Regions from separate parts of the Homo sapiens genome. Here all the other regions are linked to region 2. The links are contacts of gene promoters, found by promoter capture Hi-C in blood cells and fetal thymus (Javierre and others, 2016). All regions are on one chromosome and are shown on one strand. The core of a region is centred on a gene start or on the middle of the fragment in contact, and the rest is flanking DNA. Distances in the headings are between cores, read along the strand shown. Region 1 holds the start of LOC124903581 (a long non-coding RNA gene). Region 2 holds the start of NR2F2 (nuclear receptor subfamily 2 group F member 2). Region 3 has its middle 130 kb from the start of LINC00923.

Evidence for each region. Contacts are between HindIII fragments. The CHiCAGO score rates a contact against its expected background, and 5 or more counts as called.
Region 1: a fragment that was not itself captured here is called in contact with the fragment with the promoter of NR2F2 in region 2 in 1 of 17 cell types (endothelial precursors); the score reaches 5.3 in endothelial precursors.
Region 3: a fragment that was not itself captured here is called in contact with the fragment with the promoter of NR2F2 in region 2 in 1 of 17 cell types (monocytes); the score reaches 5.2 in monocytes.

The regions. Positions count from the first base shown.
Region 1 is chr15:95,033,005-95,037,790 of GRCh38, forward strand. All of the region lies in intron 3 of LOC105370991 (a long non-coding RNA gene), which reads left to right. LOC124903581 (a long non-coding RNA gene) reads right to left here and starts at 2,734. Exons shown (of 2, transcript XR_007064798.1): 1 at 2,380-2,734; 2 at 1-1,740. The HindIII fragment of the contact is 8,797 bases long and covers 1-4,786 here.
Region 2 is chr15:96,328,036-96,332,333 of GRCh38, forward strand. NR2F2 (nuclear receptor subfamily 2 group F member 2) reads left to right here and starts at 2,665. Exons shown (of 3, transcript NM_021005.4): 1 at 2,665-4,298. The coding sequence starts at 4,071. RefSeq lists a silencer at 2,418-2,557. The HindIII fragment of the contact is 6,805 bases long and covers 836-4,298 here.
Region 3 is chr15:97,737,526-97,742,231 of GRCh38, forward strand. No RefSeq gene overlaps it. Among named protein-coding and RNA genes, the nearest start is that of LINC00923, 130 kb to the right of the region's middle. The HindIII fragment of the contact is 3,175 bases long and covers 444-3,618 here.

The DNA.
Region 1 (4,786 bases), core at 522-3,021, 1.3 Mb before region 2:
GCAAAAGGGTAATAAATTTCGAGATGAGGCCAGTTCCTGCTGAACGGAGCTTCTTGAAAGGCAAATGGAGATTTGCATTGCAGAGTATATAACAGTGGTTCCTAGGACAATCTTTTTGGGGACAAATTTGCAACAAAACCTGATAATAGTGTAGTAGTTGAATTCATGTGTACAGTCTAGATTGGAGCAATATCATTTGACAGTATTGGTGAGTTTCTTGCGCAGGCACAGACGAGCCATTGTCAGGCTGGTCAGATTCAATAAAATACATTCAGTTAAAAGAAGGGCCCAGGCCAGGCGTGGTGGCTCACGCCTGTAATCACAGCACTTTGGGAGGCTGAGGCGGGCGGATCACAAGGTCAGGAGTTCGAGACCAGCCTGGCCGATATGGTGAAACCCCCATCTCTACTAAAAATACAAAAATTAGCCAGGCATGGTGGCAGGTGCCTGTAGTCCCAGCTACTCAGGAGGCTGAGGCAGAATAGCTTGAACCCAGGAGGCAGAGGTTGCAGTGAGCCGAGATCGCTCCACTGCACTTCCAGCCTGGGTGACAGAGCAAGACTCCGTCTCAAAGAAAAAAAAAAAAAAAAAGGGCCCTAAGATGGTCTTGGATGACAGGACTCACATTCTTTGCTGGGCCTTTGCTGCTTGACCTGCCAGACTACTGAATTCCTGCTCTGCATTTCTCCCATAAGACAAGGCAGATCTAGTTCCTTGGGGACTACAGCCTTCCTTGACATAGCCTACTGCAGTGTCACACACCCAGGCTGCAGTGGCAAGGGCTGTGACTTCCTATTCTTTTCTAGGCATGTACATCCTCCTCCTCTTCCTCTCTACTGGCCTAAAGGTAGCCAGGATGTGTTAATAAAGTTTCCTTTTGTTTTACTCATACTTGCTTAGTCTTTGCTCTCTTTAGTTAGGAAGAGCAACTAAAGTTAGTAGAGTTAGTAGAGTTTCAAATTCTACTTTGGAAAAATGAAATGCATGTTTAACCAATATTAAAAAAAAAGAATCCTTGAGGCCAAAATAGCAACCTTAGGAACTAGGGTATGGCATACAACTCTGTTTTGTTGTTGCTGCTATTGTTTTGGTCACCTTGGGGGTTTTCTTTCTCCTGCGTATTAACCCCTTGACTCCACAAACTCTTACACCAGGGGTGAGCTCTTGATTCCGCCTGGACAAACATAGCACCCCTTTCCTCTGAACACATGACTCAGTGTTATATTATATGTGTTTATTTTTATTGATTTAACAAACATAAAGCATGCTTATTATGTGTCAGGCACTATTGTAAGCATTCTACAAATATTAACTAATTTAATACTGAAAATAGCAGAAAGTTGAATCCAGTCCATGTGGTACAGGGGACTCTAATGAAGAAATTACTTCCTGAGTTGTGGATAGAGCAAAAGGGAAAAATCAGGGATATGAGGCACTCAGAGACTAGCAAGAGTGGACAGGCTTTGCCACTTCCAAGCCTAAAGAGGCACGAATGGAAGTTGTGTTAGCAAAGAACAGTGAGAGCTGGGGCCATGCAGATGGGCCTCTCTTTGGGAGCTGTGTTCCTGGAAGGACACAGCCAGTGCCAGCAATCCGGCCCACAGTAGGAAGAAAGAAATACCACAGTCTCTGCCTCTTGTTGTCCTCCAGTCTTCTCTCAGGACCTCCCAGTGGTCAAGCCCAATTTGAAGCCAGTTGGCCAGGTAGCCAGGGTGATACAATACGCAGGAGTCAGCCTCTCTGGGAACAAAACAGAGTAAAGAATGGACCGCAGCAAATGAAAATAACCAGTGAACATTCAAACCATTTTAGTAATTAAGCAGAGACAAATAAAAATAATAAGTAAACATTAATTATTTTTATTCTACCTCTAACTTTATAAACCACCCACATTAACCCTTATAAAAAACTGAAGTCATAAACTAGACAAATGTCTAGATTCCAGCTGTTAGAATTCAGCAGAGCATTCAAACATCACAGAAAGAAACTCAGGAAGCCAGCTGGCTGGGCAAAGATTTTACATTTACTATTTCTTTTTGCCAGATAATTCTACGGTAGTCCACAGACTTCCCTCACACCAGCCCAGCCTATGATATTGATACTTAAGGAATAAAGAGCTGTTTATATTTTGGTGGGGAGCTCATACTATCAATTTGCACATTAGTGAGGCCAGCTATTGCTCTCTTCTTGGGATCTATTGAGTGGTGGCTGGAGAGATATCTGCTGAAAAAAAAAAGAAAAACCTTAGCTGTCTGATGAAATGTTTTAAATGCATAGGGTTCACCTTGGGGTTGGCTGCCGTTCAGATTTTATCCATTAATAACACACAGGGCTCCCTCTGTACTCTCCAGGGCTGATAGGAAAAATAGTACTACTTACAGGTCCTTGCTTTGCCTGAGGGAGGATATTCCAAATGCTGGTTGTGCTTCATGTACACACACGCATGTTTGTATGCACATCTGCTCGGCTCACATGCATGCAATGGTGCTTCCTGATTTTTTTTTTCAAATAAAATGACACAGAGGATTTTCCCATTTTGAAACATCTTAGAAAGGACAATATGTGGGTCAAAGTGAATGTGTAAGTTTATGTTTTATCGTGACACCCAGAGCTCTAAAGCATCTTCATTCATTTTAAGTCATTTGGTATTATGTTTGGAAATGGAAAGGGAAGCCTTCAAACTGTTGTCTTCTTTCAGTTTTTGCCCGATTCAACCTTCAGCTGACATTTAATCCTAAAGGGAGAAAATGAGAATTGCTACAAGAAACCAACATAAATGTATTACTTTTAAGTGTTGTCTATCATTTATTTTATTTTATTTTTTTAACAAACTGCCCTTTTTATTCCCTCTCACTCTTTCTTTGAAACATTTAGAGAAAAGGGTGTTTAAATCAAAGTCACTAATTTCTGCCACAAGTCAGTCTTCAGATGCAACCTGCTGTTAAGAATTTGGCATCATTTTGTTAAGAAAAGATTCCCAGCACAATTGTCTGAACATAGATGATGGAGATGTCTGAGCTTTGTGAATCAACGATTTGCTATGGAGAAGGGTCATTTTATTGTTAAGATTATGGGTCATTAGTGTATAAATGCATGTCAATGGAAAGAAATACATAAGTGAGGGGTTTGGAGGGTATAGAAGATCCCTGAATTGTTTCCTGAAGAGTTTTGCTACACAATTACATTTAAAATAAGAAGGGGAAAAATAAGAAGTGGAAAATTTTAGCATTTAGTAAGTGAGAAGTAATTTACTCATTTTTTTTTCTATCTCCAAAACCCAAGTGCTTCAAGTTGATTAAAAACTTTTCTATCAAGTCATTCTATACTGAATCTAAACTACTCCATTAGCTTTAAAGGAATGTGGAACTGAAGCAAAGAGGTGTCCCCACTTCCATTCTCCAAAATGAAATTGATCATCTTAGGAAACTGTATCAAACACTAAAGAAATTGTCAACCTTCAACAATCTGTGTTGGAGTAAGTATTTTAATTCATATTATTTACTCTAAAATATTAGTCTTGAAGTGAATTGCCACAATGTTACCAAGATAAGCCCCTGAATCCACAGGGGCTAGAAAGAATTGACTCCACAACCAAAATTGCTGTGGAGTCAAGGCTTAATAAATACATATTCCCTAATTAACTAAACTTTGTAAAGATGTTAAACAATGCTGATGCCTTAATAATTGTTTCTACACCTATAGCTCATTTATTTTTATATGTTATTTCTATTTTTTCCCATAACTTGAGTAAAAGGGACATTAGACTTTGACATTCTTGGCTTTCAGATTAACCATGTGACTTGGGCAAGACACTTAGCCTATTTAGGTATTGGGGGGCTTTGTTTGCTTTTTATTAGTACAATAAAGACAGTAAATACTTCATCATGGTTATGTGAGGATCAAGTGAACTGAAACATATTTGTGCTTTTTAAAAAGTTTTAGGTGTGAGAGATAATTACACTGATGACATAGCATGATGACAAAATTTTATTTCTAGATCCAGTCTTTCTACCATCTCAAAAGTCATAAAAGACACTAGAGCAATAACCATATCATTAGAACAATGGTAAAAGGACAGGCACCAAATGACAAAACAATGAGCATTCAATTTAAATCAAAGAAAATCTGACTTAAGGGTGGCTGAAGACAGTGGTGGCAGCCCACTGCATGCCTCCTTAATACAGTACAAAACAGACAAAATAATAAAGAAAAATAGACTGTACTTGAAAATCACATCCTCTGCATAACTTGAGGAAAGACGATGTACAATCTTTCAAATCACTCTAATTTAAAAAAAAAACAAAAGTCAATGATTTCCTGCCAGACCTCCACCCAAAGTAATGCCCCATTGTGGGGAAAGACAGAAGATGAAAGGCTGTGGAGGGGCCTAAACTTGAACTTAAACTGCTTCAGGAAAACAAGGTCTTCCCTAAGTCTGAAAAGTATCTGAGTGGATCCAGGTGATTTGGACAGGAGACAGGGAAATACTGGGTAGAAGAGGGTGGATCCCTGGCAAAGGCCCCACCTTCAAGCCTAGAAACCAGTGGCCCTAAATGGGAACAGGTATTCCTTTTTTCACACCCAGAAGTTGCCTTTTGGCCTGCCATGCCCCACTATCCTGACCAATATAAACCCCAAACCTCAGGCTCCAAGGGCAGATGAACAGAAGAGCAGAAGAATGGTAGAACAGTGTGGCAGAGAAGGAGAGAAAAGAAGGAGTATCTGAAAGTCAAGAGGAGGTCGTCTGGGGACAGTCAGAGAGGAGATCAGCCAATGGACAGCCAAA
Region 2 (4,298 bases), core at 1,415-3,914:
GAAGACATTTAAAAATATTTTTGCCCTTTTTTCTTCTCAGTCTGTAGTCTTGTCTCTTCTTCTATGCATTAAAATTAAGTATAATTCATACGGTGATTTTTTTTCTCCCTTGTAACAGCATTTCATAACTGAATGAGTCCTAAAATACAGAGTGAAACACCCCTGACTTTATGGCAGCCCTGTGATCATTTGCCTAGCAGGCTCCAATTTGTTAAGATATGGTTGGGAAATTATTCCATTTTAATCTAAGGCCATCACGCATACTTCAAATTCCAAAAATCTCTAAGTGGACTGGGGAAGCTCTTCCTCCTCGATATTGTTCCTTCCCATGTTTGTAAAAGGTAATCTGCTATGGAAGTCTCATTCAGGAGGTGAGATGAAGATTTCCCTATAATCAATTATTTTCATCCTCTATTGAGATGGGAATGCCCATTAGATTTCCTATCTCAACCCCAGTCTCATCACATCTCAGCTGAGCTTGTCCCGAATCTGCTGACATTTGTAACATTAGCAATTCCTGAATCATAGAGGTTGGAAGGGAAAACAACAACAACTACCAAAAACCTTCTCCTGTGTAATGATTTCTTTTCCATCCTTCTTATCCTCTTTAGGAGAAAGTTATATTGTGTCTCTAATTAACCTGAAATTCTCAGCTTGGCTTCATTCTGTGGCAATCTTATTACACACCAGGTTTATGATAGTTCAGTGTCCACTATAGGTTTGCTGGGCTTTTTTTTTTTTTTTTAACAACTTTCAAATAAACCGAGAACCTGCAGCTTTAGTGAAATACGTGATTTCATCGGAGAAAGAGTGAGGGCTGAGGTTTCGGGAATGAAGCTTAAAGAAGATTTTTCCTTTCCTAAAAACCAGCCCCTATCTGCCCAGATCTTTAGTCCTTACCTCATATTCTGCCTATGTGTGTAAAGAGAATTGAATGTAAAATGTGATCTATGCATGTCAATTATATGTATGGTTTATTTTTAAAATATCTTTACCCTGTCAATTTTTTTTTCAGCTACCAAGGATGTTTTCTGTGGTCATCAATTTACTCTTCATATGTGTTCATTTCTTTCCTGGAGCTCAGCGTCTTTTGTGTAAAATATTTTAATTGTTCACAAACCTGGTTGGTTTACCGGCATGAGGTTTTTTCTTGGTGCAAAGTGTGTACAAAGGAGACACAATTTTCTTGTATAAATGTGGAATAATGATAATTCACTAACTGGTCATAAACAACAAGTTTACTGCGTTGGAATATAGTGTGTTCTGAGAGCAATTCTACATGTTTGATGTTTAAAACCAGACACCCTGGAATTCAAAGACACAACTGTCTCAATTATTTTAGCACATGGAGCAGAATGGCAATAGGCTATGAAGTTGTTCTTTTTGCAGTGACTTCTTGAGGTAGAATATGGCTTGGGTTTGGTTCTTGTGACCTGTACTAGTATTATTTCCCATTTGGGGCAGAATCTCTGGGTGCGTTTTAATGACTATATGAATGCTTAAAAGGAACTTGAGGAACAATGAAGTCCGTACTCAACTGTTCTATGACCTAGAAGCATAGTCGGTGAAGTCTTTGTCTGTGTACATTGACAAATGTGCATCTGATACATGTGCGCTTACATGTGTGTACAGAGGGTGTGCACAGGGGAGGCTGGGCGGCTGCCTCCTCCTGTCCATCAGTGGGCAGAGGTCTTTCCCCTCTCACCATGACTGGGTGTGTGGCAGGATGTTGGCTGGAGAGTTAGCTAAAACCAGCGAGAGAGGGTAAAGTTGAGGAAAATTGATTCTAATTGCATCATGACAATCAGATGAAGTCTATTTCTGCTTCTCAGCATCCGAGATGCTTTATTTGGGCAATTAAAATGTCAGGCCACATACCTGTGAAATGTTAACCCTACAAGGAATAAACAGAAACAGAACGGCCTTTATCCTCTGAAAAGAATATATGTCATATATATATGTCACCAAACCGAACAAGTGATCAGAGTTAATTAAGAGAAGGGTTTGCCATCACCCGGATCTGGCCAACTCTTTCGTTTGGAAAATGCCTACAAGCTCAGTTCGTGGCACCTTCCCACCCTCACTCCCTATCCCTCTGCAAAGAAACCAGGGAACTTTTCTTTGGCATTGTGGGTACTAAGATGCGCCAGGAGTCCCGGGTGGTGCGCGAGCGGCGGAATTCGTGACATCGCCAAGTTGCGAGAGGCAAACTCCCCGATTCCATCCAAAGCCTCTCGCGGAGCCTTTAAGAGACGTTGTGTGTGCGCGCTGCGCTAGTCTCCCCGCCGGGGCGGAAACCTCGGGTGCGGGATGTGGGGAGAGCAGAGGCAGCGCTCGCAGGGCCAGCACGGGCCCATCCCCCTCTCGGCGGCGGCGGCGGCGGCGGCGCGGCCACCCCGTCCCCGCCCCCCCAACCCCCGGTCCCCCGCGTGCCCCGCGCCGCGCCGGCGACGCCGCTCGCGCTAGGACCGGGCTGCGCCCGCGGCCGCCATGGCGGGGCCGCCGCAGTCCGGCCAATGACGGCGAGGGGGCGGCGCGCGCGCGCCTGGCCAGGCCAACCCCGGCTGCTGCCTTATAAGGCGCGCCGTCGCCATGGCAACGTGCGCTAAGTTGCAGCAGTCGTGTCAAAGTTCACTATATAGAGAGCTCAGTGAGCTGATCGCGGAGAAGCCACTTCTGCCAGCCCCGGCGCCTATAAATCGCATTCCCTCCCGCGCCCCCCTTTTTAGCATATTTGATCACTTTGATTCTCTGTTCTTTTCTCTCCGCGGTGTGTGTGTGCGTGCGCGCGTGTGTGTTTTCTTCTTCTCCTCCTCCTCTCCCCGAGTTGCCTCCTTTCTCCGGGTGCCGTACTGCCTTTTTTCCCCTCTTTCATTCTTTCTCTCCGTCTTTTTCTCCCCCCTCTGCGCACGAAGGATGTGCTTCTAGGTGGTGATCTGCCCTCCTCTCTCTCTTTTATCATTTCTCCCCCGCCGCCGGCGAGTTGACTCTTTCCCTATGTGTGTGAGGCGGCGGCGGCAGCAGCAGCAGCAGCGGCTCCGGCGGCGGCAGCAGCGGCAGCAGCGACTTCAGCGGCGGCGGCGGCGCTAGACGCAGCGGCTCCGGGCCCGACCCGGCGGCTTCGGCGGCGGCTCCGGCGGCAGCGGCGGCCCGGGCGGCCCGCAGGGAACGGCGAGCGGCCTCCACCCAGCGACTGCGGGCGGCGGCGGCCGGAGAGAGCGAGGCGCGCGCCGGACGCCCGGGGCAGGCGGCGGCGGCGGCGGCCCAGCGCCAGGACGACGCCGCGCAGCGCCCGACGCGGACCACTTTCATGCTGATTCCCCCGGACCCGGGCAGCGCTCCGGCCACTCCGCGGGCCGCCGGCCTCCGCCCCGGCCTGCCTGGCTCCCTGGGCGCGCCCGCACCCGGCGCCTCCGATCTCCTAGTCCTCCTGATTTCGATGGCTTTCCTGAATGGCTGACTGTGGGCTGCCCTGGACTTGGCCCCCGGACAGTCGCCTCTCCTCCTCCTCTACCTCCTCCTTCACCACCACCTCCTCTTCCTCCTCCTCCTCCTCCTCCTCCTCCGCCAACTCCTCGGCTGCACACCAGCTCTAAGAGCGAGAGTGAACGAGAGAGGGAGGGAGAGAGTGAGAGCGAGCGAGATCTTTGGAGAGATTTTTTTTTTTGCCTCCTACTTCTGTCTTGAAGCCAGACAATCGACTTCAGCTCTCCCTCCCCTCCCTCTTTCTCCACGTTCTGCTCCCACTCGCTCTCCTGTCCCCTTCCCCTCCCCTCCCGGCGGAAAGCCCCCCGAAACCAACAAAGCTGAGCCGAGAGAAACAAACAAAACAAACACACCGGGCCAGACAAGCCATCGACAAAACTTTGCAAAAGCAAAAACAAAAAAGGAAAAACTAACCAACCTCAACCAACCAGCCCCCGAGCCACCCGGGGCGCCCTCCCGCGCCCTCTTGCACCCTCGCACACACAAAAGGCGGCGCGCCGGAGCCCGAGACCCGGGGAGCCGCCGCCGCCCCGCCGCCGCCCGCAGCCAGGGGAGCAGGAAGTCCGGACGCAGCCCCCATAGATATGGCAATGGTAGTCAGCACGTGGCGCGACCCCCAGGACGAGGTGCCCGGCTCACAGGGCAGCCAGGCCTCGCAGGCGCCGCCCGTGCCCGGCCCGCCGCCCGGCGCCCCGCACACGCCACAGACGCCCGGCCAAGGGGGCCCAGCCAGCACGCCAGCCCAGACGGCGGCCGGTGGCCAGGGCGGCCCTGGCGGCCCGGGTAGCGACAAGCAGCAGCAGCAGCAACAC
Region 3 (4,706 bases), core at 781-3,280, 1.4 Mb after region 2:
CAGTTTCCCATCAGGAGATGGAGAACTCAGTGGTCGAGGTATAATGATAACACTGAAGTTACTAAGCAGCAATTCCTTCTTGCTCATATCTCAGAAGCAAAGAATCCTCAGGGTTAAGGGACACAAAGCCCACATAGGCCTTCCTGAGGCTTTCCAGGTGTTGGCATACTCAGGCCTTACTCAACAGACAAGACAAAGTGATGCTAATGCCCCCATGATAGGAAATAAACTTCTATTGTTTCTTGAAAGCATCTCTGGATAAGAGCAAGGACCAGAGGGCTTTTTCCCATGGTATCAAAAACTGGAACAGAGAGAAAGAGAATTTCTCATCACAATGTTAAAACATCCATCTCATGCTCTGAAGTGCATGTAGCTCTGAATGCTTCCTTCATAGTAGGGAGGCAGGCCTGAGGTTGCTCTTGGAAGGAGTCTCTGGCACAGAAAGCTTTGTAGAAACTCCATCAGATCTCCACTCTCTGCCTCCTGATTAGCTGCTGCCTTCACCTCCTCTTTTGCTTTTCTACTGCAGTTGTTGGATTTGTGATCTTTGCCATTTCAGGAAAGTTTCAGCATGTGTTGTACTGTAATTTTAGCTTTATACTGTTTTTCATTTGTAAAAGAACCTCTTTAAAGAACAGAATGGAAACAAGCAGTTCTTCAAAGGGTTTCAAATGAGAAATGTTCAAGTGTGTGTGAGTGCGGGCACTGTGGTAAACCCAGCAGTTGCTGGGCAGAGGTTATTCATTTATACACTCAGTCATTTGACTTGGATTCTAGACCTCTATAATAGAGGCTGGCAATGTAAAGATGAATGAGAACAACTGGCTTTATCCCTAGAAAGATGTGGCCCAAGGAAACTAAAACTCACTTCTCCCTCACTGCCATCACCATCAGCAGCATAAGCAACCTCAATACCATAATGCATTTTTATTCACGGGTAACCCATTTAATATAAATTCTTCAGTCAATTTCTTTGTTTGTTTTGTTGTTGTTGTCTTTTGTTTTACTTTTATTTTGGGTTCTGGGGTACACGTGTAGATTTGTTATATAAGTAAACTTGTGTCATGAGGATTTGGTGTACAAATTATTTAGTCACCCAGGTAATAAGTACAGTATTCCATAGGTGGATTTTGATCTTCACCCTCCTCCCACCCTCCACCCTCAAGTAGGCCCTGGTGTCTGTTTTTCCCTTATTCATGTCCATATGTACTCAATGTTTAGCTCCCCCTTAGAAGTGAGACTATGTGATATTTGGCTTTCTGTTACTGTTAGTTCACTTAAAATAATGGGCCTCCAACTCCATCCATGTTGCTGCAAAGGACATGATCTTGTTCTTTTTTATGGCTGCATGGTGTATATGTACCACATTTTCTTTATCCAGTCTACCATTAGTGGGCATTTACATGGATTCCATGTCTTTGCTATTGTGAATATTGCTGCAATGAACATACATGGGCATGTCTTCAATCAATTTCTAATTCATCTCTAAATCTTCTGTATCACTTTCAACTACTTTGAACACATAGAACTTAGTAGGCATCTAATATTTGTGGAAAGATGATCTTGAAGAATAAAATAAACATCTAAAGTGGGTTAATACCATTTGAGCAGGAAGAGTGAGGGTGGGTGCATCAGTTGGAGAGCATTGGGGACAACTGAGGAATAATGGAGTAATTAATTGTACATGACCCTAGGCCCTTTGCACTCACCAGATACCGACTTCCTCCTGCATTCTTAGTCACAGCCAGATTCAGCTTTAATTGATCTCCACTGAGCACCTAAAGTGAACCAGGAATTATGTAGGTATTCTTGTATGGCATAGTTTACCTAATATCACAAAACAACCCCTTACATCCAATTAATCCCTCATTACTGGCGTGGGAAATGTGGCTCAAAGATATTAAATAAGTTGCCTAGGTTCCACAGCCTAGTTATGTTAGACCCAGGATCCCGTGTCAGGTCTGCTGCCTCTGACGAGGGTTGCATTATTCTTAAGCATCAGAAATGGATCTCGGAACATGAATAATAAATGAGAAAGACCCACCTAGTTAAAATGACTGTAATTTTTTAATCCATTTGGATGATCAGAACAAAGGCTATAAAAGCATCCTTTGAAAGATCAGGCCAGCCAGAGTCACCTCCCCTTTGCAAGGAGGAAGTCACATAGGTCTAGCTCATCCTCTTAGGAGCGGAGCCCCTGTGAGTTTAGTTCCTAACCAGCTCATCCCAGCCTGGCCTCTCTCTACTGCCTCAATGCAAATGACTACCTGAACCCAGGGTAACCTTATAGATTTTTTAATTCAGTAGTTATTTAAAGTCACTGAACAACTTATTAAGCAGGTAAGATAAAGTTCACAGGATAAAATGTGTAGGCATGCAAATGTGAAGCATTAGTCCATGTGGCACACCGAAGTCTGGCATTGCGTGTTTTAAAAGCCTTCAAAGTGCCGTGCATGTCCTTGTACTTTTCTATATTCCAATGTAGGATTGTGGAGATCTAGTTTCCCTCAATTAAGTTCTCATTGCTGATGAAACCTGAAGAGAATGTGAAATGGTTTGAAGTGAGGAGTGTGTCCTTCAATGTGGATCGATGGGCAAGAACAGTGTGACCAGAGCAGCCATGGGGCAATGCTCTATATCCTCACCAAAGAAGATGGATGCTTTGGGAGTTGAAGAGGATGATCAATAGCATGCTGACTGACATTGATACAAGAAAAGGTCACTCAAGAGTCCAAGCCATAGGGTGTTACCCAGCCCCTGAGGGTGTCATTCACATTGCAGCCTGTAAACAGCACCTCCTGGACTTGGTAGACATGGTGGCCCTATAGACCCCTTATCTTCCCTATTCTCTAGTACTATTATCCTCCATTTACGACCAAGATGGCGGAGCAGGCAGAAGGAAGAGAAACCACCATATGTCACCTTGGCCCCAGCTCATGACAATATCCCCAAAGTCAATAGCCTTTGAGTGCCCCCAGGAAAGAGGATGTGGGAGTGAGGAATACCATGTGCCTGTTCTGTATCAATGTCTGCATTTTATTGATCCGTCCACAATCCCTCCCAAGAGGGATGGATCATTACGCCCTGTCTTTACAGCCAGTGCCTCCTCTGTATGAAAGCCACAGCAGAACAATCCCTCTTTGCCATTCTCAACTTTGCTTTTGTCAATAAGTGCTGAAGACATAAAAAGGGAAGATGGGCTTTGCTCCTGAATGAGAGCTATTTGACTTTCAATATACAGACCGTGGCAAATACCTTTAGATGTTGTGTCCCGTGGAGCCTTTTCAGAGGTAGGTTTTGTTTGCAGAGGGCTCTTTTCTCCTTAAACTAGACCCAGAGAGCCATCCTCTCTTAATTTGGCCTTGTGGATGCATCGTGGCATAGGTATGCCAAACCATGCCCTGGTCCCTTGGTGGAAATGATGGGCTCACAGTATTTTTTCCAGGCAGCATCAGCCATGCCATAGTGAGCAAACATCGAGTTAAACAGAGCTTGCCTTTCTCTTGTGTTTAGGCTGCTGCCCCTTCTCTCTCTGCACAGCCCCAGACTGGCAACATTTTAAGGCAGAGTTTTAAAGTAAGCAGGAAATTGCCACGTTTAGCTGTTATGCTTTTCCCAAGCTTTAGGGCACACACAGAAAATTTAAATGCATCCCCAAATAGTACTTGGTATCAAGAATGGGCATCTTTAAGGTACTATACAATGGAAGATTGAGGATGTAGCAGGACCACAAACATAAAAATTAACATATCCAACTCATGGCTCCTCCCAACTCAGTATTAGAAGAAGCAATGGGGAATAAGAACACATTCTCTCTTGGGAATCTTCAGAGTAGTAAAAAGCACTTTATATTTATGCATAATGAGCTACTTTTGTGCTTTACAGACCGTCTTGTGCATGGTTTGTACCCCATATTAAATTTGATGATGGATATGAAAGTATTTTATAAACAGAAAATTGTTATGCACATTTTAGCTATTATGAAAATAATGATGAGTAAATAACTTCAGTTAGTGAGGCTGTCATTGGACCAATTTGGAAGCCTCTCTCTCCTGTTTCCTCAGTCCTACCCTTGGATGCAGAAGAAAGAAAAACACACAAGAAAGGAATTTTAGGAGATGGAAATTTTTTAAGTTACTGACATTTACTAATAGTCATAGAACTGCAAATTAAAAAGTAAAATTCCATTTCAAGTTATAAGAGATTGGTAAATAAATAAAAGATTGAAAACAATCAATGTTGACAACACTATAGTGAAATAGGCAGTGTGAAGTGTTAAAATGTTAAAGATCCTAATTATGTGATATAACAATTCCACTTTTGTGAATCATCCTACCAAAAATGAAAACACTAGTCATTATATCCCATTACATCCATATATGTATAGATAGGTAACTAGATAAATAGATATAAATAGATATCTATTGATGTTCAATATGGGATTGTTTGTAGTGCAGAAAACTGAAAATAAAAATCCAAATAATCATTCATAAGTCAACAGTTTGTTTTGTTTTGCTTTGTTTAGTTTTTTGAGGCAGAGTCTCGCTCCATCTCCCAGGCTCGTGTGCAGTGGTGCTATCTCAGCTCACTGCAACCTCCACCTCCCGGGTTCAGGTGATTCTTGTGACTTCAGCCTCCCAAGTAGCTGGGAACACAGGCATGCACCACCACAGCTGGCTAATTTTTTTTTTTTTTTGTATTTTTAC